3 separate regions of the Homo sapiens genome follow, and regions 2 and 3 are each linked to region 1. Evidence: promoter capture Hi-C in 16 types of primary human blood cells and fetal thymus (Javierre and others, 2016). All regions are on one chromosome and are shown on one strand. The core of a region is centred on a gene start or on the middle of the fragment in contact, and the rest is flanking DNA. Distances in the headings are between cores, read along the strand shown. Region 1 holds the start of PLEKHG3 (pleckstrin homology and RhoGEF domain containing G3). Region 2 overlaps LOC105370534 (a long non-coding RNA gene). Region 3 overlaps CHURC1-FNTB (CHURC1-FNTB readthrough).

What was found. The method cuts DNA at HindIII sites, captures the fragments that hold promoters and counts their contacts. A CHiCAGO score of 5 or more calls a contact.
Region 2: a fragment that was not itself captured here is called in contact with the fragment with the promoter of PLEKHG3 in region 1 in 1 of 17 cell types (endothelial precursors); the score reaches 6.8 in endothelial precursors.
Region 3: a contact is called between a fragment that was not itself captured here and the fragment with the promoter of PLEKHG3 in region 1, in 1 of 17 cell types (erythroblasts). The highest score is 5.1, in erythroblasts.

Annotation. Positions count from the first base shown.
Region 1 is chr14:64,703,082-64,705,821 of GRCh38, forward strand. PLEKHG3 (pleckstrin homology and RhoGEF domain containing G3) reads left to right here and starts at 1,343. Exons shown (of 17, transcript NM_001308147.2): 1 at 1,343-1,623. RefSeq lists an enhancer at 1-123. The HindIII fragment of the contact is 3,721 bases long and covers 1-2,257 here.
Region 2 is chr14:64,888,271-64,891,073 of GRCh38, forward strand. The region is part of intron 1 of LOC105370534 (a long non-coding RNA gene); the gene reads right to left. Among named protein-coding and RNA genes, the nearest start is that of SPTB, 9.8 kb to the left of the region's middle. The HindIII fragment of the contact is 1,223 bases long and covers 808-2,030 here.
Region 3 is chr14:64,938,535-64,941,346 of GRCh38, forward strand. All of the region lies in intron 3 of CHURC1-FNTB (CHURC1-FNTB readthrough), which reads left to right. GPX2 (glutathione peroxidase 2) reads right to left here. Exons shown (of 2, transcript NM_002083.4): 2 at 624-1,304. The coding sequence ends at 954. Among named protein-coding and RNA genes, the nearest start is that of GPX2, 2.8 kb to the right of the region's middle. The HindIII fragment of the contact is 1,432 bases long and covers 535-1,966 here.

The DNA.
Region 1 (2,740 bases), core at 93-2,592:
AGCCCCAACTAAGTTGATCTATTTCCGAGCCCCTCTTCTGCAATCTCTGCTCTCACCTTCACGGTCCGCGAGTCTGGGGCTCTGCAAGCCTCCAACACACCCTCCCTCCCTAAGGAATGTGGGCCCCGCTTTCTGGGCCTGCCAGACCGAGCGCCTACCGCTTCCTCCGCAGGCAGGAGCCGGGACGCTGCCTTCACCCCACCCTCCGCCAGGATCCAGTTTCAAAGTCACCTGAAAGCCATTTCCTTCCGCGCCTGCCCCGCCTCTCCCCTCCCAGTAGATCACCTGGAGCTTGCATTTGCCCAGAGCAGCATTTTGGGGCGGGCGCTTGTTTTGTTTTAAATGATACCTCTAGAAATCGTTTGCTGTACACCTGGATAACAAATATACCCCGTGGTTCTAATATCAGCGTCCTATTCCTCCTCCCAAGGAACTAGTGATAGCGCCTAACCAGTGGGCGTTGTTCCTCTTCCGGAGCCCCACTCTGGGCTTCCCTCCTCCGGGCTTGTTGTTCTTCAGGATCTTTACTGATGAATTATTATGGGTTTTTGGATTTATGCTCTTGCTCAAAATGTATTGAATGTCTCTGTCCCCCATCCTCACCCCTTGCCCCCCAGTTTCCAGGTGTGTACCTTTCCATGCATACACGGTCATATACAGAGACATAAAGACAAACGGTTCTCTTTGTTTTATAAAAACGGGTCCTCTATCATCCAGGTTTCTGTGTTTTATTTTTCCTATTTAACAGTTCCTTGTGGAGTTGCCTTCACGTTGTCTCCTTTATCTCTTTCCCGTCAGCTTCTCAGAGGTCTGCATTTACCACTGTAAAGCGTCACAGGGACCGAGTTATGGTGAGGAATTCAAGACATGCCTTTCTGACTTGGAAAAGCGGACACGGCCGGCTCTGGTAGGATTAGGATCCCCAGATCGATCCCGGCTGGTCACTCACTTGGGAAAGCCCTCAGCCCCCTTCGCAGGGCCCGGTGTTCCCTGTCCATACAAGGGGTACGTTCTGGCAGTCCATGCTGTCTCGGGAGGCGGTGATAGCAGGTCTGTGACACCAGGGTGACCCCACCACGTGCGTCTTGGTATCCTAGAGCATCTAGGCTGCCCGGGGGTGCGCGCTCATCACCCTGCGGGCGTTAATCGTTAACCGCGCCCAGGCCTCGCCGCCGCCGCAGCCTTACCCCGGCTCTGGCTCGCCGCGCCGCGAAGGTTGCCCCGGCCCCCGCAGAGCCGCCAATTGCTGGACTGCAGCCGCGAGCTGGAGTCTCCACCCACAGGAAAAATTCCTGGCCCGCCCCTCCCTCGCTCCCTCGCTCCCTCGCTCCCTCGCTCCCTCGCTCCCTCGCTCCCTCGCTCCCTCCTGCCCTCCCGCTGCAGCTCCGGCTCCGCTCGACTTCCTGCCGGGCGCTGGCAAGCCGCGCGCTGCCTGGGGTCTCCGGGGGCCGCGCTTGCAGCTGGCCGAGTCCGGGCCAGCTGAGGGGCTGGCGGTGGGCGGGAGCGGTCGGCGGCCTCAGCCCCTTCAGAGAGCGACTTTCAAACTCGCGCCCGCGTCGCGGCAGCACCTGGGCAGCCCCGCACGCCGTGCGCGTCCCGAGCCCGCGGGGCAGCTACCGCTCGGTGAGTGTCCCCTGATTCTCCTCTCTCCCCTCTTATCTCCCTGCATTAGGCTGAGCGGCGGTGCCGGCAGTCACGCTGGGGCCCCAGTCCCTTCGCGGCCCCCGTGCCAGCCCCCTGCGGGGTGAGGACCGGGGCGACCGAGGAGGGCCTGGAACTGTGTTGGCTGCTTCCCGGGCCACCCTGCCGCAGAGTGCGCGAGCGCAGGAGGGTCGTATGGGGAGACTTTTTCTGTCTTTTTTTCCCTCCACTCCGGAAACAAAAGGGGCAAATGCGCCGGGCGGCTCCAGAGAGGCTCAGTTTGAAATCCAGGAAGCCCGCGAGGCCGCGCGCGCCCGAGGGCTGGTGTTTGGCTGGAGCTGTGGGCCTGGCGGGTGGACCCTTCTGCGCGAGGACCCGAGCCTCGGCTCCTGCCAGCCCCGGAGGCGCCTGCAGCCTGTTCCGGGTTGGCGCCGCACGGTGCTCGCTGTTGGGAATCTCGGCTACCTGTCCGGCAGGGAGGAGAGTGGGGGCCAGAAGCGGGGAGCGGAAAGCCCGGCCACCAGCTGCCTCGACCTCGTCCACTCCTGAAGTCGGTTTGGTTCTTCGCACCCCTACACCCAGCCCTTTGGTTTGGAAAGCCAGTATAAGGCGTGCAAGCTTAAATTTTTAAGGCGTTAAATAGCTACTTTGACTCTTCGGGGCGCCTTTGGAACACAAAAGGAAGAACGGAGGGGAGAATGGAATGGTTGGAGGCTGGAGAGGTGTGGCTTTTGGGGAGGGTGTTGTTAGAGGCCGCGAAAGAGTTTGATCCTCGAGGTCACTCGCTAATCTGTTGGCATATGTAGGTGCCTGTCCCCTGCTCTGGGGGCCCCAGCAGGAGACCCACACTGCGTTCACCTTACGGGGAACCCTGGAGTGGGGGTTCCCAGAGTCTCCCCAGCCGTGCCTCTGCACGCAGCCCAGTCACATGGCCCTTGCTCAAGAAATAATAAGCAGGGAGGGCAATGACAGTCCGGAGCGGGGGAGGGCCTCCCCGTTGAGCACATCGGCCACCTCGCCTTCAGCAGTGTGGTTTTCCGGGCCATCCTTTGTTGGACAAGGATGGGATCCTGAGTGATTAAACCCCAGCTGTTCCCCA
Region 2 (2,803 bases), core at 169-2,668, 190 kb after region 1:
GCCTCCCAAAGTGCTGGGATTACAGGTGTGAGCCACCACGTCCAGCCTTAAAAGCAAATCTTAAAATGCAATGACCCCGGGAGGAGTTAGCTTTTAAGGTAGGATCTTTTGGCTATTGGCATAAGAAAAAAAAGTCAGTTCCACTTAGTGACATTTTAAGAGCCAAGAATTTTTTTTTTAAGATAGTAGCAGGGTAAACCAGAAAGATCACTAGATGTAAAGGCAAAATACCTGGATTCTACTTCCTCTTAACCTCTCTATATCTCAGCTTCTCTTCTGCGAAATGATGGCATTGAACTAGCTAGTCTCTAAGGATTCTTTTAGCTTTAGCTTTCTATGTTTTACACTTATGCTAAGAACATAGTAGATGTTCATTATAATAATGAAAAATTGGAAATCACTTCAATGTTCATCAAAATGGGATTGGTTAAACCAATTATGGTGTGAACGCATGCACACACACACACACACATAAATTCTATGTAGTCATTTAAGTGATGTGGTTTTATGCTTACTGATAGGGAAAGATGTCATGGCATACTGTTGATTTTTTTTAAGTAGGCTCTAAATAATTTCTATTTGATTAAGAAATAAGACATTTCATATCAGGAAAGATACTCCAAAAAATCTAAGTGATTTCTAGATGGTGAGATTTAGAGTAATTCTTACTTCCTTCTCTATTTTGCTATAAGGTTTGGGTATTTCATAAGCATAGAATATTTTATAATAAATAATAAAGTTGTTTTCAATGTGGGGGAAAATATAGTTAAATATAAATAGCAGATATGAGATCCTTACCTGCGAACAAGCTTTGATAGAGAGGATGGTGAGAACAAGAACAAAACAGCAGTGAACTAAAGGAAAACAAGGTCTGAATATTCTCATCAATAACTCAGATAATGAAATAACCGTGCCCCAAAGGTTAGAAAAAAAAAACTATTCTTTTTATACAAAACCGGCACAGCTGATCTGTTTTGCTCATTCAGGGATCTAATCAAAACCAGCACAGCTGATCTGTTTTGCTCATTCAGGGATCCCATCGCCAGTGTGGAAGATGGAGTTGCCTGACTCATGCTCAGCCCCTTACCAGTCCACCCCATGAGCAATGGGAAGACCTGTCGAGTCATCACACTGGCCATTAGACCAACCTGAGGCTATGGAAAGAAACAATCCTTACTTCGTTTTATGCTGCTATAACAGAATACTATGGATTGGGTAATTTATAATAAACAGAATTTATTTGGCTCATGGTTCTGGAGGCTGGGAAGTCCAAGATTATGGCACCAACATGTGGCGAAGGCCTTCTTGCTGCATCATCTCGTGGTGGAAAGGTGGAAGGGCAAGAGAGCGAACAAACGTGAGGGCAAAAGGTGCTGTTCTTATCAAACCCACTCTCCTGATAATGAATGCCCTCCTAAGATAATAACATGAATGCATTTATGGGGGCAGAGCCCTCATGACCTAATAACTCCCTCAAGATCCCACCTGTCTGGACGGATTGTTTGAGCTCAGGAATTCAAAACCAGCCTTGAGAACATGGCAAAACCCAGTCTCTACAAAAAAAAATTAAAAATTAGCTGGGCATGGTTGTACATGCCTGTAGTCCCAGCTACTCAGGAGGCTGGGGTGGGAGGATCACCTGAGCCTGGGAGGCCGAGGCTGCAGCAAGCCGAGATCACACCACTGCACTCCCACCTGGGCAACAGAGTAAGACTCTGTCTCGAAAAAAAAAAAAAAAAAAACCACCTGTCAACACTGCTGCATTGGGGATTAAGTCTCCAACACATGAACTTTGGGGAACACATTCAAACCATAGCAAACCCTAACCATTTTATGACAGGATTGATCTTATAACTTTGTTTTCTTTACTATTGTGCTTTAATTATTTGAGTTTCCTAAGGTTGCCTAATTAACCTTGATAACTATATTTATTACTCAAATAAACATCAAAAAATGCAGAACAAATTATAAGATAGGTTAACTATCAAGTGGGAATTCATACAAGATAAGTCAGCAAAAGAAGAAGAATAAGCTTTTTTTTTTCTTTTCTTTTCTTGAGAGACAGAGTCTTGTTATGTTACCCAGGCTGGTTTCAAACTCTTGAGCTCAAGGAATCCTGCCATCTCAACCTCCCAAGCAGCTAGGACTACAGGTGTGAGGCACTGCACACAGCTGAGAATAAGCTTCTTACATGCAAAATGGTGGCCTGGGTGCAGTGGCTCACACCTGTAATCCTAGCACTTCAGGAAGCCAAGGTGGTAGATCACTTGAGGTCAGGAGTTCAAGACCAGCCTGGCCAACATGGTGAAACCCTGTCTCTACATCTCTACTAAAAATACAAAATAAAATACGTGGTGGTGTGTGCCTATAATCCTGGCTGAGGTGGGAGAATCACTTGAACCCAGGATGCAGAGGTTGCAGTAAGCCGAGATCGTGCCACTGCACTCCAGCCTGGGCGAAGGAGTGAGACTCTAGCTCAAAAAAAAAAAAAAAAGCAAAATAGTGAATAAGTTTTGAAGTTGAAAATTGGTAGAAAAAAAAAATCTTGTGGGAAATCATAAAGACAGGTCACTACTGTGGTTGTTATCAGTCAAAAAGTGTGTGGCGTAGTTGCAACACCCAGTATGGGGATCTGGATCTCTATGTGGGATGGGCGATCTGAGTGTCCAAACGGGATCTAAACTTCTCTACTTGAGGAATCTTCCTGTTGCTGACTTAAATGATTGTTAGTAGTATATTATTTGCTTTTTGCCATTTGTATCATACCTTTCATACTCAAATTCCTTGACTCAATTTGGGAATC
Region 3 (2,812 bases), core at 1-2,500, 240 kb after region 1:
ACTCCTGACCTCAAGTGATCCGCCTGTCTCGGCCTCTCAAAGTGCTGGGATTATAGGTGTGAGCCACCACACCCGGGCCATGAACTTTAAAAAGGAGGGAGAATCAGTCTAGCAAAGGATCAAACACCCGAGATGTTTGATGATCAGGAAAAAGATAAAGTGCTGTTTGTGTTCTCAGTAACTACACCCTCTATGCCCTTGCTATTGGTAAACATTAACTAAGCTGACTGCCCAGGAATTTCCCAAGGCACAAGTCAGATCTAGTTGGCCCAGTACCCACAGTGCTATTGATGCTTCCTGACTGTAATCCTCCTAACAGCCTCCCAATATCCCCAACCAAAGGGCTCATTGTCTTTTCCTCCTCTACCTCCCATTATCACTTTCTCTTTTTCCCCAGTTCTGAAGAAGAGCTGTAAAGGAATAATATAATTCACATTTCCCGTAACTGCACCTGCCACTGCAGACCTTGGCCAGCGCTTGCTTTCCTGTCAGTAATTAGGGCATCCCTTGATCCGTCAGATCCTCCCCTCCCAAAGCTTTGTGTGCTAGCAGCTCCTCTATCCCACCTGCAGTTTGTAGCTTCCCTCCGCCCTCTGTCAAAGAACACACACACAGGCTGGCCGTTTCCACACCTGCCCTTTATTGGTCTCTTCTAGCAGAGTGGCTCCAGGCCCTTCACGCCTCTCAGACACCACCCATGAGGGTTTAGGAAGGTGCCATCATTCTGTGAAGGCCCAGAGCTTACCCAAGTCTTGGAGCCCAAGTTGAATCACCAACCAGAGGGTTGGGAGAGGAAAAGGAAACAGGCAGAGGGGAAAGGCAAGGCTCTGCAGTGAAGGGGACTGATATCAAGGGAATGCTGAGGTCCAGCAGTGTCTCCTGAAGGCATGCTGCATCCTAAGGCTCCTCAGGACTGGATGGAGTAGGAGATCTGTGTGTTGAGCAGTTCACATCTATATGGCAACTTTAAGGAGGCGCTTGATGTCAGGCTCAATGTTGATGGTTGGGAAGGTGCGGCTGTAGCGTCGGAAGGGCTCTCCCTCCGGCCCTATGAGGAACTTCTCAAAGTTCCAGGCCACATCTGAGCGGCGCACAGGGCTCCAAATGATGAGCTTGGGATCGGTCATGAGGGAAAATGGGTCATCATAAGGGTAGGGGAGCTTGTCCTTCAGGTAGGCGAAGACAGGATGCTCGTTCTGCCCATTCACCTCACATTTTTGGACAAGGGTGAAGGTGGGCTGGTATCCACCCCCAGGACGGACATACTTGAGACTGTTCAGGATCTCCTCATTCTGACAGTTCTCCTAGGGGAGGAAAAAGACAAAGTGCGTGGACAGTGGGTGGGGGAAGAGAAAGATCCACAACATGAAACTCTTTCACCCTCCTACACTCCCTCCCCAGGGTCATTCTTTTTCACTGTGAAAGAGAGAGAGACAAGACAGACGAGGTGTTGCTCACTGCAGCCTTGAACTTCTGGGCTCAAGCATTCCTCCTGCTTCAGCCTCTTTAGTAGCTGAGACTACAGACACAGGCCACCATGCCCGGCTAATTTTTTTTTTTTTTTGTAGAGATGGGGTCTCACTTTGTTGCCCATGCTTTGGCTGCTCTTCAAGATTTAGCACTTCTGAGCTGTTGCTTTTGTCTCCAGTCTACCCTGAGCAGTTCTTAAGGTGTTTGAAGCAGAAGAAAGAGAAAAGAGGCTTAGGTTATACTGCTTAGAACCTCCTCTTCAACTAACCTACCGACCCACCTACCCATAAATCCATACCTACACACACACCCCTTTCCTTTCCTCTGCCCTGGTTTTGCCTCGCCTGCTTTCAATTGCACGTGTGTTGAGTATAGCCTTTGCCTCTGCCTACTCAGCTCCTTGAACTGAGGGTGAAATTGAGACCCAGAGGAATGGGATTTACAGCTTCTTGCTTTCTTCTTGCCTTGTCCTAGAACTGAAGTACAAATGGGAAGAAGCTTTGATGAAGGAAGACCCCCATCCAAGAACATCTAGTTTTCAGGTGCCATAACAGCAGAGCAAGTTCAAGGCAACAATGAATGTGTACTCTAAATGGAACTACTTAGTAACCAACAGGCATGAAGTAAATAGGATACAGGATTTAGGGTTTGGCAATAGGCCAGGGGGAGGGGGAGTTGAGGAAATAAGTGCTTGATGGCTAAAGATTGTGAGTATGTAATTATCATTCTTTTCTTGAGTAGGCTGCTACCCAAAGACTGCTGCACCTCCTATCCACTCACTGCTCTCAGCTACGCATGCTTTGGCTCAAAACCTGGTCCCTGCCTTTCCCTCCCCACTGCCATCCCTGTCCTATTCCCTCTCAGCATCACCATTCATGACAATCCAAAAGGCCTATGGGAACCCTTCTTTTCCACCTCTACCTTTCCAATTTAACAGACAGATACCTTCCTCTGGGAGAAAGTTCCTGCTTCTGACCTGTGAGAACTAACTAGTTCAGTCAGTTCCAGGCCATCATGACATCATGAGCCCAGAGCTGATCTCTAGTGGACTTCTCTGTTTTTGTTTCTGTTTTTTTTCCTGAGACAGGGCCTCACTCTGTCACCTAGGCTGGGGTGCGGTGGCACAATCATAGCTCACTGCAGCCTCGACTTCCCAGGCTCAGGCGATCCTGCTACTTCAGCGTCCCAAGTAGCTGTGACTACAGGCACATGCCACCATGCCTGGCTAATTTTTGCAATTTTTTGTAGAAACAAGGTTTCACCATGTTGCTCAGGCTAATCTTGAACTCCTGAGCTCAAGCAATCTGCCTACCTTAGCCTCCCAAAGCGCTGGGATTATAGG